Linked DNA regions of Homo sapiens: region 1 is linked to region 2. The links are contacts of gene promoters, found by promoter capture Hi-C in blood cells and fetal thymus (Javierre and others, 2016). All regions are on one chromosome and are shown on one strand. Each heading gives the region's core, a stretch centred on a gene start or on the middle of the fragment in contact. The rest is flanking DNA. Distances are from core to core; before and after follow the strand shown. Region 1 overlaps NDUFA5 (NADH:ubiquinone oxidoreductase subunit A5). Region 2 holds the start of FAM3C (FAM3 metabolism regulating signaling molecule C).

Region 1 (7,276 bases), core at 316-2,815, 2.2 Mb after region 2:
TGCTCAAATAACACCTTCTTATTGATTAACTACTGATAATTTGCATTATGATAGGCTGAAAAATACCACAAAAGATATACATGTATTAATTTCTAGAAACTGTGAGTGTTACTTTATACAGCAAAGACTTCACATATATGATCAAGTTAAGGATGCTGACATGGGGAGATTTTCCTGAATTATCCATATAGTCCCTAACTGCAATTATAAGTGTCCTTATAAGAGAGAGGCAGAGGGATATTACACACAGAAAAGGAAAAGGTAATGTAACCACAAAGGCAGAAATTGCAGTGATGAGACCACAAGCCAATAAATGCCAAAAGCCACCAGAAGCTGAAAGAGGCAAGAACAGATTCTACCCAATATCCTCCAAAGGAAGCACAGCCCTGACAACACCATCTTGATTTGGGTCCCTGATGTTGATTTCCAACTTCTGGCCTCCAGAAGTCTAATAAAATAAACTTACATTGTTTTAAGCCACCAAGTTTGTGGGAATATTACAGCAGCCATACGAAATTAATACATAGTGTAACATCCCCTATCCCCACCATGGCACACATTTTCCTTGTTTTATTTTCCTTCACTGCACTTACTATTTTCTAACACACTATGTACGTCTTTACTCAGTTTTTACTTTTTTTTTTTCTTTTGGTCTCCCATCACTAACATGTAATCTCCAAGAAGGAAAGGATTTTTATCTGTTTTGTGCCAACTAGGCACAAGTTTCCATGCCTAGAACCATACATGGCATTCAATAAATGTTTCTTGGTTAAAGAAGTGAATACATAAAAAACAGCTGAAAGGGGGAGAAAAGGGGAAAAAGTAATAAGCATGTTTAAGACAGATTATTTAACAGGGAATTAACTCATATGAGAGACCAAAAATCAAAAACAAAACAGGGAAGCTGGTCACTGTTATAAGAGACTCAGGAGAGTGAAGGTAAAGAAGGCAAGGAAAGTTCAACGACACTTTCATTTCAGAAAAAGCCTGTGTTAGGTGAACAGTTCAAAATTTGTCTTACCGATAGTGAATAATGTGATTTTTAGTCACCAATGGCATAATGCTATTAAACTTGATAAGGTACCATGTACTGAATGCTCACTATATACTTGGGACTATGTTAAGCTTTTACGTGCATTACCTCATTCGGTTCTAACAAAAAGTGTTCGAGGTGGGTATTATTATACCCACGTTATAGATGATGAAATTGAGACCGAGAAAACTAGCAATATGCCAAGTCACTCCACAAATAAGTATTAGAACTAAGATGAAAATCTTGGACAGGGACACAAACAACGCTTTTCACCAAAATAGTACTATCTCCCTAGTAATAATCTGAAAAAAAAAGTTACTTTTATTTCCACCTTAGGCTTAGTAAATAGATATTTTATAATAATGGCAATATTCACTAAAGATTTTGTGTGTGGCTGTATGCAGGGTTAAAAATCTGTGATAATTTTACCAAAAACAGGAATCAGAGATACAACTGTTAAGTGTTTGGGGTTATATCTAGCCTTTGGGATAAAGACACATTTCTAAGGAACCTTATGTTCCAGGTACCATGCTAGAGTCTAAGGATACAAAGTTGAATCCAATATCATTAACAAGTAGCTTATGGCTGGTGGAGACATAATACAGCATGAAGGTACAATGGAAAGGAGGTAACAAAGTTGTCAAACTCTACTTAAGAAAGTAAGAAAAGGTTTCACAGAAGAAGTGATGATTTATGAAGAAAAAGTAAGAACTACCAAACAACGTAAAGGCATTCCAGGAAATGAGAAAATACAAATGAACACAAAAATAAAAATGCAAGGAATCCACAGAACTGCCAGCAGTTTGGTACTGCTTAAGTATAGAGTATAAAACAGGAAGCAACAGGATCAGATTGAGAAAATAACCAAGAGCCAGAACTTAGAAGGCCTTCTATACCATGTTTTTACCCTGTTAGGCCAGTGGTTCCCAAACATGGCCACACATCAAAATCATGCAGATAAAGGTAGCTAAGCAAGCTTCATACAACCAGCTCAACATAAATCCTTAAACTCAGCCTTTGAGAAACACTGAACAGAAAACCACAGTAAGATTTTAAGCAAGACAGCACAGTTGGCCCTCAGGATCTGCATCTGTGGATTCAACTAAGAATGGATTCAACCAACCACAGATGGAAAATATTCAAAAAAACACAATAAAAATAACAATACAGCAATTTTTAAAATACAGTATAACTACTTACACAGCATTACATTGTAGTATTATAAGTAACCTAGAGATGATTTAAAGTATACAAGAGGATGTGCATAGGTTATATGCAAATACTATGCCATTTTATATAAGGGACTTGAGCATCCTTGTATTTTGGCATCCATGGGAATCCTGGAACCAATCCCTCATGGATACCAAGGGACAACTGTACCATCACAAGATTTACATATTGAAAAAAAAATCAGTCTATTATTGGCTGTATGGTGGAGCATGTAATGAAGTATAATGGAAGTACAAACAGATCAATTAGTTATAAGGCAGTTTAAATAGCAGAGAAAAGGATTTTGGAACCAGTAAGTAAAGAAGTATGAGAGTAAACTCTTCTTTGGTTGAAACTGGCTATGGGAGAAAACAAAAATAGGACAATAAGTAAAGGAAAATACAAGCATACAGTTTTTTTTATTTTTAAGATAGGAACAAGCTAAAAACATTTGAGGCTATTTGAAAGATGATGATAAAATAGGTGAGGCACCGGGTGCAGGTAGCTCATGCCTGTGATCCCAGCACTTTGGAAGGCTAAGGCAGGAAGGTCACTTGAAGCCAGGAGCTTGAGATCAGCTAGGGCAACACAGTGAAACTCCGCCTCTACAAAAAATTTTAAAAATTAGCTGGGCATGATGGTGAGTGCCTGTGGTCTCAGCTACTTGGGAGGCTGAGGTAGGAGGATTGCTTGAGACTGGCAGGTCAAGGCTGCAGTGAGCTGTGATCGTGCCACTGCACTCTAGACTGGGTAACAGAGTGAGACCCATCATATAATACAATACAAAATACGATATAATACAAACTGCATTGTTTTGTTGCATACCTAACGAAAGATAGGAATTCTCTTTGAACTATATAGTCTGGTAATCTAATAAGAAGAAATATATGTGACTAGGATCACTTATGCATGTATATAAATTACCTTCAGAGTTTCTAAGCACTATTTTAGATAATTACATAAAGTCCATTTAATGATTGCTAGTGTGAAAATTTAACAATAGTACAATATAGTTTGGTATGAATCAGCAGTCTAGACTTTTATTAACTGCTACTTAATAACAGTCTAGTCTTTTTGACAGGTTTCTTTGAAAAAAAAATGCCCTTTTTTGTTTTGCTTTTATTGTTCTCTAAGATTAGAAAAAGGAGATCAAGATTGATATATCCAAGATAAAAAGCAAAAGATCAATAAAGGACTAAATAGTGAAGAGAGGTAAAAGGAACAGCTACAATGTTACTTCAAGGAAGGATCTGATCCTAGTCTCAAACTCCAGTATGTAACAGAGGCCTGCATATAGAAAACACTCAATAAACAAGAGTTTGCTGAATAAAAGGGAGGAATGATGGGAAAAGAGCATTCAAGGAAGGAGAATAGAAGAAAAGTGTGTCGAATATATAAAAAATAAGGAACTAAACTTTTTTGGTTAAATGTTACACAAGACAACAAAACTGACTTAGCTACTTACCGCTTTAACCATAGCCAGCTTCTCATTTGTAATCTGTTCTGTATACTTTCTATATGCTGCATTTTTAGGGATTTCCTCAAGAACATCAAGAATCTTTGTGTACAATATTCTTAGCCTCTGAAAAGACAAACCATACAAATTTCCATAGGTTAAAATATTACCAAAGACTTAATGGAACACTTGTCTCAAAGACAAAACAAACAAAACTCACATCTGTTTTTTTTTTTTGCTTTTTTTTTTTAATTTAACTCTTCTTTGCTCTGACTTCTTTATGTCTGTGCCCTATCTACACCCTTTATAACTTAGGAAAAACCTGTATATAAACATGGGAACATTCTGTATTTTCTGTGTATAACAAGTTCTAGATAAGTCAAAGGTATGATAACAAGTAGAAACAAAACTAACTTATTGCTAAGGACCTTTTGGGAAATCGAATCATTTACCAAATCAGTATTTTTCTTTCTTTCTTTCTTTTGAGACGAAGTTTCACTTGTTGCCCAGGCTGGAGTACAATGGCATGATCTTGGCTCATTGCAACCTCCACCTCCCAGGTTCAAGCGATTCTCCTGCCTCTGCCTCCACAGTAGCTAGGATTACAGGTGGCCGCCACCACGCCTGGCTAATTTTTGGTAGAGACGGGGTTTTGCCATGTTGGCCAGACTGGTCAGAAACAAAACAACTTATTGCTAATGACCTTTTTGGAAATCAAGTCATTTACTAAATCAGTATTTTTCTTTCTTTCTTTTTTTTTTTTTTGAAACGGAGTTTCGCTCTTATAGCCCAGGCTGGAGTACAATGGCGTGAACTTGGCTCACTACAACCTCCACCTCCTGGGGTCAAGTGATTCTCCTGCCTCAGCCTCCCAAGTAGCTGGGATTACAGGTACCCGCCACCATACCTGGCTATTTTTTCTATTTTTAGTAGAGACAGGGTTTTGCCATGTTGGCCAGGATGGTCTCAAACTCCTGACTTCAGGTGATCCGCCCACCTCAGCCTCCCAAAGTGCTGGGATTACAGGCGTGAGCCCACCCAGCCTGAATCAGTATTTTTCAAAGTGAGGTCCGAAGCACTGCAAATTTTTTTTTTTAATTTTTCTTATTTGAATTTCTGTAGAAATAAACACATATAATCATTACATCTGTATGATCAAATTTAACTAAATACGGTCATAATACTTCAGTGTTCTTGCTTCTGATTATGAATGAGTTACGACATAAAGTCTGCATAAAAGGCTCAACCGAAAAAGTAGCAAGAGAATTGAGTCAATGCATAGCATGTACTGAAGCACACTGAACTTAAACTTCAGTATAGAAATCAGTAAGAAGTTGATCCTCTCCAATTTAAATATATAATGCATATATTAGTTTTTAATATAGCATTTTAATTAAGTTTTAATATGATCTAAAATTCAGGTTTTAAATTTTCATCTTTCCTGACAAAAATGTATCAGTGTCTAGAGAAATACAGATGAGAACAGGGGACTATTAATATAGAATAAAAGAAAAAATGTTATCAATAGGGTGGACACTTAGTTTATCATCCAAACTTGGACACTTATAACAGTGAAAAGATACCTATTAATCATTACGCCAAAACACAGGTATGAACCAGAACAGTTGAAACAAACAAGACATGATCACTCCAGGAGTAAGTCTCAATAATTACAAGTATACAAACCCTTCTCCTAAAGAGCAACCTTTTTTTTCAATTAAAAAAAAAAAATGTGTGCAGTCCTCACTATTCATAATAGCAAAGACTTGGAACCAACCCAAATGCCCAGTGATAGACTGGATAAAGAAAATATGACACATATACAACATGGAATACTATGCAGCCATAAAAAAGGATGAGCTCATATCCTTTGCAGGGAAATGGATGAAGCTGGAAACCATCATTCTCAGCAAACTAACACAAGAACAGAAAACCAAACATCACATGTTCTCACTCATAAGTGAGAGTTGAACAATGAGAACACATGGACACAGGGAGGGGAACATCACACACTGGGGCCTGTCAGTGGGTGGGGGGCCAGGGGAGGGATAGCATTAGGAGAAATACCTAATGTAGATGACGGGTTGATGGGTGCGGCAAACCACCATGGCACGTGTATACCTATGTAACAAACCTGCACGTTCTGCACATGTACCCCAGAACTTAAAGTATAACTAAAAAAAAAAAAAAAAAAAAAAAATTGTGTGCAGTCCTAATAAGGGAACAGGGTAAAGCAAAAATAAAAAAGCAGATAAGCTAGAAGTCCACCTTTCTTCATGGTCCAGGACACACAGTCCTCCTCCACAAATAACTCACAATCTTCCTGTGCCCAGCTATCATCAGACCCTCGCCTGATAGCTCATTGCAACCTAGGTGTTATCAGTACTGCACAAAGCTCTCTTCAGCCCACAGCACAAGCACCATCCTTTAAGATCCCCAGCAAGCCTTTGCTACTTGCATTCAGCTCCTCTTTTGCTGACTTGCCAATAGCTTTCTTGCAATGTATTTTCATACTTTCTCTAATAAATCTGCCTTTCTTTACCTCAAATGTCTTGGTAAATTATTTTTACCACCACGCAACACCAGCCCCAGACAGTCGCTACCCGCGAAAAAATATACTCAGTACTTCCATGTACAATACCACACTGTTTGCGTATAAAGATAGACTGGACATGGATCACACTCCAATATGTTTAAGGTACTATCGAGTGTACTTATCTGTTCTCATGCTGCTAATAGAGACATACCTGAGACTGGGTGATTTATAAAGGAAAAGAAGTTTAATGAACTTACAGTTCCACATGGCTGGAGAGGCCTCACAATCATGGCAGAAGATGAAAGAGGGGCAAAGGCTTGTCTTACATGGCAGGAAGCAAGAGAGCATGTGCAGGGGACCTGCCCTTTATAAAACCATCAGATCTCACGAGACTTCTTCACTATCACAAGAACAGCATGGGAAAAACCCACCCCATGATTCAATTACCTCCCACCAGGTTCCTCTCCCACGACACATGGGGATTATGGGAGCTACAATTCAAGATGAGATTTGGATGGGGACAGAGCTAAACCATATCACAGGGTAAGCTACAGAAGAGGAAAAATAATAAAAATGATAAAAAGAAAAAATAAGTGTGTGTTTGGCAGGGATGGGGAAATACATAGAGCAAAGAGATATTATAATACTTAGCAACGGTTAAGGGTGTGCTAACCAGAACATAACTGCTTGAGTTTACACTGGCTCCACTCCTTAGGTGCACTGGACAAGTTATTTCCATCTCTGTGCCTTCATCCCTCATCTGTAAGATGGGAATAATACTGCCTCATAGGGTATATACAACTTAGAACAGTACCTGGTACACATTAAGTTTCACTAAGTATTAGCATTATTTTTCTATAGCAGAAGAAGAATTCACTTCAGCTGAGACCAGAGAAGCATTCATATTTCAAAAAGGTGGCATCTAAGATAGACCCAGAGGGATGGTAGATCATAGAAACTTAAATGATATTGGAAAAGGCAATTACATACAGAATACATAGAACTGAATGGCAGAAAATACAGCAAACATAAGGAAGTGGTA
Region 2 (6,896 bases), core at 165-2,664:
CTGTAAGATACTGTATGACTAATAGTAACGGTTCCCAAGACTTAAGAAAACGTAACTGCAAATTGGCCACAAGTCCAAGGGGTCGGGGCCTCTGCTATCAGCATTGACCTTTACTCTCGGGAGTTCATATTTCCATCTGTAAAACTAGAAAAGATAAAGGGACTTATTCACTGAGCTGTTGTGAGAATAAATGAGCACACGAAACCATTTGGCAGTGCCTAGTACACAGTAAGCAATCTAATATTATTTATGTCATTGTATCCATATATATATGGATACATACATATATATGGATACATGGATACATACATATATACGGATACATACATATATATGGATACATACATACATATATATGGATACATACATATATATGGATACATACATATATATGGATACATACATATATATGGATACATACATACATATATATATATGGATACATACACCTGGCTAATTTTTTTATTTTTTAGTAGAGACGAGGTTTCACCATGTTGGCCAAAAAGAAACAAAGGAAAAGTCCTATCAATTAGATAGCAGTTCTATATTACAGGCAATAATATTTTTTCTTAAAAAAAAAAAAGGTAGAGGATGATGGAAACCGCTCCTCCCACAAGTAAAACAGCTGGAGCTCTCAATCTCAAATTGCCAATCCGTCACTCACATATTCAGATCTAGGGCCACTAATCATCATCCGTGGTCCCGAGCTGTGAGAGCAGTAGCAAACAAATAGGAAGAAAAAGAAGAGACACCAAACATCAAAGGGCTGGATAGCTTGTAAAAAACCAAAAGTACCTCTAGTATAGGCGACACTAAAACTTTACAAGTGAGTCAAAACGGCCCCCTATGGAGTTGGAATGCAACACCCAACTCCGTCCCCACCTCTCGGAGCTCTCAGCCTACACGCTGCAGGGGCGCGAGCCACAGCCAACCTGGGGAAGATGCGACCCAGGTGCCCGCCCCAGGCCGGGGCGCCGAGTGCCAGCGCCAGGTGCAGACGCCGCCCCGTCTCCGCGGAGCCCGGGGATGCCCACGCCGGGGCGGCGGCCGGGAACCCCGGCCAGCGGCTCTCCGGGACCCCAGTCCCGCCTGCGCCCTCTCCAACGTCCGGACACGCCGTGACAACGCGGCCGGGCCCGGGGCCCGCCCCCGGCCGGTGACCGCAGTGCGCGGAGGCTGAAGTCGTAGGTGGGCGTCTGGCTTCCCCGGCCTCCTCCATCCCTCCCCGAACCTGAGCCCCGGCTCCGTCCGCCTCCCAGCCGTCTCACCGGCCTCCCGCCCGCCTCTCCGCCGCGCGCGCCCGCCTTCCGGCCTCCCAGCGCTCAGTCCTGCCGGAGGCCGACGGGAGCCGCCGCCTCCAGCTCGCGCCTCCGCTTCCTCTCGGACTCCTCCGGCTGCCCCTCACCCCGGCAAGTGGCCAGGAGAAAGCCAGCTCGCCGCTGGGCCTCCTCCCACGCTTCCCGGCCGCGACCAATGGGCCCCCGCCGCCGGGAAGCCGCGCCCGCCCCCTGGCGGTGGAGGACCAAGCGGGCGCCCGGGCCGGCCAGAGGGAAGGGCCGGAGAGCGGAGGGAGGGGTCTGCGGTCCCGCCCACCGCCCCCGGCCAGGCGCTGCACAATCTGAACTTGCCACGTGGGAGCTGCCGCCGCCGCAGCGGCCCTGCGCCGGGTGGCACTACGGGAGGGAGAAAAATGTGTCACCGCCGTCTCCCCACCGTTTACACGCACAAAATCCCAGCCTCAAGGGCAGAACATTTTAAATGACCCACCCATCCTAGAGATGCGCCAGTTAGGTCATCTTATATATCTTGAGATAGCTGAGATGGTCAGATCAACCAAGGACCTTGGGTTATTTGCCGTTTGACTTCTTGAACCCTAGGAAACTGATTCTGAAAATCCTACTGTCCAGCGTCATTAGAATTCTGATCACCTTTAATGCACCACCCAAGAAGAACAGTAGTCCTTGCATTTTCCAAGTCACGTTTATTTTTTAAATTATAAGATACACAATCGTTAGAAATATTTTTTCTCAGGAGATTTCCTACAATTGTGTTGATAATTGGGAAGTTAATCCAAATCTTACTACATAAGACCTTAGAATGCAAAATTATTTCATAATTCAGATCCATATTCTAAAATAATGAATAACTGTTACCTAGTATTTGACAGAATATTGGGATCATCAGTGGTTGCAGAAATTAAATTGCATTTAAAAATAGGGTTTGACTATAGTGTGTTAATATAGAATTAATAATCTACCAAATTTTAGCTTTCCTCCAAAAATATAAAACACACAAACTAATAGTAACTATGAATTCTGGAGTTTGTGATCCGTGATCAGGGGAGAAAGCATGAAATGAATTCTCATTGTCTTCCATGTGCCAATATTATGCTATTTGTGTATTACTTAAATCAAAAAACTAAGACTCCAAAACTGAGTTTAAATATCTTGCTCAAAAATACAAGATAGTAAGTTATGAAGCTGGAATTCCGGCCTAGCTTCATGTAGCTCCAAATAAACAAAAAGGCACTTTGCTTATTATAGTACCAAAAAATCATAACACTTACTGTACACATGCCTCTCCTAGACTGCTATGTCTCACTGAAAGAGTTTATGAAGCCTCTTGAGTAGGGAGGTCACGGTGTATTTCTGAAAGAGCAATCTGCTCTGTAACCGAGCCAACCAGATTGGAAATTACATGTGACATATTCTTATAGCACCACACCTGAAACAATTCCTGTGCATAAAGTTTAATGTGTTAGTAGCCTATTCTCCACTGACCATAAGATATAGCTTAGAACCCTTTGGTAGGTAATGAAATTAATAACAATGGGTCACAACCAACATTTTGTTGCTGTTGATTCACTGAAAAATAGAAAAAAAAAACAGTTCAAAGCATAAATTCAGGATAAGTATTCTTCATGAAACATTTGTACAGCATCATGTGTGGGTGAGTGTCTGTGTGTCTATGTCCTGGATACAGTAGAAATTATATTTCTTAATATGGGTTTCAATTTTTTTAACATTGGTAAATCACTTCTTTAGGACTCCTGTTAATCAGCCAGTTCTTACACCTATAAACGAGTAAGGATAACTTCCTACTTTTACTTGGCAGGAGGTAGGGGAGCCAGGAGAAGTATTCAGGATTAATGATTAAGCTTAATAAAACCACAGAGCTTTACAGCTCCAGGAGGTATAAGCCAAAGGTGTTGGCTATTACAATAACTACCGATAATTTATATTATATAATAATAGCTACTGATAATGTATATTTCTAAAGCTGATATTTATTGTGTGCTTATTGTGCACCAGGCACTTTTCTAAGCACTTTATATATATAGACTTATTTAATTCTCACAATAATCCTATAAATACAGCGGAGAAAAGTGAAACTTGCTCAAGGTCCTTCTGCTATGACCAGACAGAGCTAAGATTCAAACTCACGTGCTCAACTTCAAAGCCCAACTTTTTTGTTGACTCGAAAAGAATATACAGAGAGTGTGACATCCAGCTTCTGAGTGTCATCCTTCATAGCACAAGCAACAAAAGAGAGGATTAAATATGGATGATGTTGAGAAAGGCAAGAAGATTTGTATTCAGAAGTGTGCCCAGTGCCACACTGTGGAAAAGGCAGGCAAGCACAGGACTGGGCCTAATCTCCATGGTCTCTTCGGATGGAAGACAGGTCAAGCCGTTGGATTATTTTACACAGATGCCATTAAGAACAAAGGCATCACCTGGGGAGAGGATACACTGATGGAGTATTTGGAGAATCCCAAGAAGCACATCTCTGGAACAAAGTGATCTTTGCCAGCATTAAGAAGAAGGCAGAAAGAGCAGACTTGATAGCTTATCTCAAAAAAGCTACTAATGAATAATAATTGGCCACTGCCTTATTTATTACAAAACAGAAATGTCTTATGACTTTTTTATGTGTACCATAATTTAATAGACCTCACACACCAGAATTCAGATCATGAATAACTGACAGAATATTTTGTTGGGCAGTCCTGATGTAAAACTAAGACTGGCTTGCAGTTAAATGAATATGTTCAGTTTTTTTGAATTTTAATAGTAATCCAATTCAGTAAATGCTATCACTGTTTACCCTTTCTAAAGACATGATTTGATTAGACTTTGTTAGTAATGTTCAGCTTTTCACAAAGATGGTGAATGCCATCTTAAAACATATTGGAGATTGGTTTTATATTTGGATTTATATAACTGGTTATGTGAATATATTTAAATACTGGAGAAATTCCTTCACTATCTCAGAACCAAGCAAGATTCACCTGTGTTTTGTGTTCATTTGCCTCTTAAAGGCAAGGGTTGAAGATAAGGTAGCAATGTCTACTTTATATTTTTGGCCTTAACTATGTCAATCTAATTAGAATTCCCTGTATTTAAAATAGTTCCTTTTACTTATTGAAAGGCATTTTAGTGTGGTGTATGTGTAATATCAAATAAAGATTATTTAACACTTCTCACATTTTATAGATGATCTGTAAGATAATATGCTTTTAAAATAGTAGCAAGTTAAACTTCACTCTTGAATTATTTACAATCTAAGTCAAACTAAGTTATAATTTAGGATTGTCTTTAAACAGCCATTCAGAGGCTGGGCGTGGTAGATCATGAGGTCAGGAGATTGAGACCATCCTGGCTAACACGGTGAAACTCGTCTCTACTAAAAATACAAAAAATTAGCCGGGCGTAGTGGCGGGCACCTGTAGTCCCAGCTACTGGGGAGGCTGAGGCAGGAGAATGACGTGAACCCGGGAGGCAGAGCTTGCAGTGAGCTGAGATCGCACCACTGCACTCCAGCCTGGGCCACAGAGTGAGACTCTGTCTCAAAAAAAAAAAAAAAAAAGCCATTCAGAAACAGAAAATCGTAGAACTGCTGTGTATTTGTGATTGGGAATGGTGCTTTTGCCAACTTAAAATGATTAAAGTAGAGGAGATATACACAAATTTTAAAATTATATGTGATCATAAGGCTTAAAAACAAAACCACAAATCATGATTAAAAGAAAGGAATGTTCATTCTCTCAATAGGTGCCATATTTTATATAAAACTATAACCTGCTTTATATTACTGTAACTATATAAGAATATATAAAAAATGTATATATAAGAATTAGATAATATTGTTAAATACAAAATTTCCAAAAAGCCTCAGAATTTTAATTGCACCCACCCTCAAGAAGAAGAGTCCACTTGGTATCATTTTTCTGTATATGGAGTAGTAAATTATAGGCAAATATGGCTACCAACAATTCCCCCATTCCTGTAAGTTCATGCCACTTTGTTTTTTACCATCAAGAGGTCAATCTATGTCCTCTTCTCTTGAACCTAGGCTGGCCCCGGGACTTATTCTGACCCATAGAATGCATGGAGGAGATCTTATGTGACTTATGGGCTTAGACCCTAAGAGACCTTGCAGCTTCCATTTTCACTAGCTTCAGGATCTAGTCACCATATAGGAAACTCAGACAACTACTGAATAATGAGAAACTACATGCAGAGAGAGGCCTAGCTCTCTCTCTCCATCCACACCATCCCAACCACTTCCCCAAGGCACCAGCTATATGAGTAAAGTCGTGTTGCATGTTCTAGCTCCAGCTAAGCTCCTACCTGAGTATATCACATGAGTAACTCCAGACAGTACCACATGGAGCATAACTGCCCAGCTTAGACCAACAAACCCACAGAAACTTGAGAAATAACATACTTAAAAAAATTTACTAAGTATTGTGGTAGTTTGTTACACAGCAATAAATAACTGAATCAGGGAAGAAAACATTTGTAGGGGGAAAAGAGTTGACCAACTCTGGGGGTAGGATTACTTTAAAATATTCAAGCATGTTTATATTGGATTATAAACTCAAACCTGTGGCAAGATGGCCAGAAACTTGCCTAGCTTCTAAAGAATATAGCAGAAGAGAGAGAAAAAGAGAGGTAAAATAATAAAACTGAAAGTAAACGTGTCAAATTTTATACCTATACAGGTTAAAATACCACATCTAAGTGTCATTTGAAAATTATTATTCAGAGTTTTTATAAAAATGTGAATTTAAAACCCTTAAACTTCATCCTTGCCTGTAAGGGCAAAATAGTACAGTTCAAAAAGCTGGAGTGCGCACAGATTTCATGGCACTGTATTTGATACATTAGCAACACAGCCTATAAAATGTGGTTTAATTTACTATGAAACATGGAGGATACAGTAGAATGGCATTACAGCAAATGTATCTTTGCACAAAAAAGACTCTAAGTTTTTAATCTATTACTTTTCTAGTAACATACAAGAAAATTCTAGATACCATAAAAATTTGAATTTTTAAATGAATTGAATAAAAAATAAATATTCAAATAAATTTGACTTTTGATTTCACTGCATAGGGGATTCTAGTTTGGATTTGATGTTTTAATAGGTCTTTCAGTGTCGGAAAATTTAGCATTTTTGTCTTGCTTATGAATCATGTTAAATGATATACTGTATATGGTAACCCATATCTAAAAAATGTATTGGAATCATGACTGCAAAATAACTTCCCTTTCCTTGAAATTGTTCACAAATGTGAATTATAAGCAACTATTAAGGTTACTAGTGGCTTCCTCTGAAGACTAATTTATAATTCTGTCATAAAATATTACCTTCTAGAAAAATTTCTGACTCAGCATCATATTCTACAAAATACTTTTTTTGAAGTCTTATATGGCAGTGTTAACTGTTGGTAATGCCAAACAATGATGCAGTAACCGTGGATTTGCCTAAATATATCACACGCACACACACACACACACACACACACACACACACACACACAGACACATACACACCTTGCATATACACAATACACACATAGTGTATAAGGTGTTTAGAAATTTATATTT

What was found. The method cuts DNA at HindIII sites, captures the fragments that hold promoters and counts their contacts. A CHiCAGO score of 5 or more calls a contact.
Region 1: a fragment that was not itself captured here is called in contact with the fragment with the promoter of FAM3C in region 2 in 1 of 17 cell types (non-activated CD4 T cells); the score reaches 5.6 in non-activated CD4 T cells.

Annotation. Positions count from the first base shown.
Region 1 is chr7:123,546,763-123,554,038 of GRCh38, forward strand. It overlaps NDUFA5 (NADH:ubiquinone oxidoreductase subunit A5), which reads right to left. Exons shown (of 5, transcript NM_005000.5): 3 at 3,708-3,824. Among named protein-coding and RNA genes, the nearest start is that of NDUFA5, 7.4 kb to the right of the region's middle. The HindIII fragment of the contact is 884 bases long and covers 1,124-2,007 here.
Region 2 is chr7:121,394,894-121,401,789 of GRCh38, forward strand. FAM3C (FAM3 metabolism regulating signaling molecule C) reads right to left here and starts at 1,415. Exons shown (of 10, transcript NM_014888.3): 1 at 1,269-1,415. It also overlaps the pseudogene CYCSP19. RefSeq lists enhancers at 452-1,037, 1,038-1,622 and silencers at 850-1,679, 1,720-1,779. The HindIII fragment of the contact is 3,372 bases long and covers 1-3,155 here.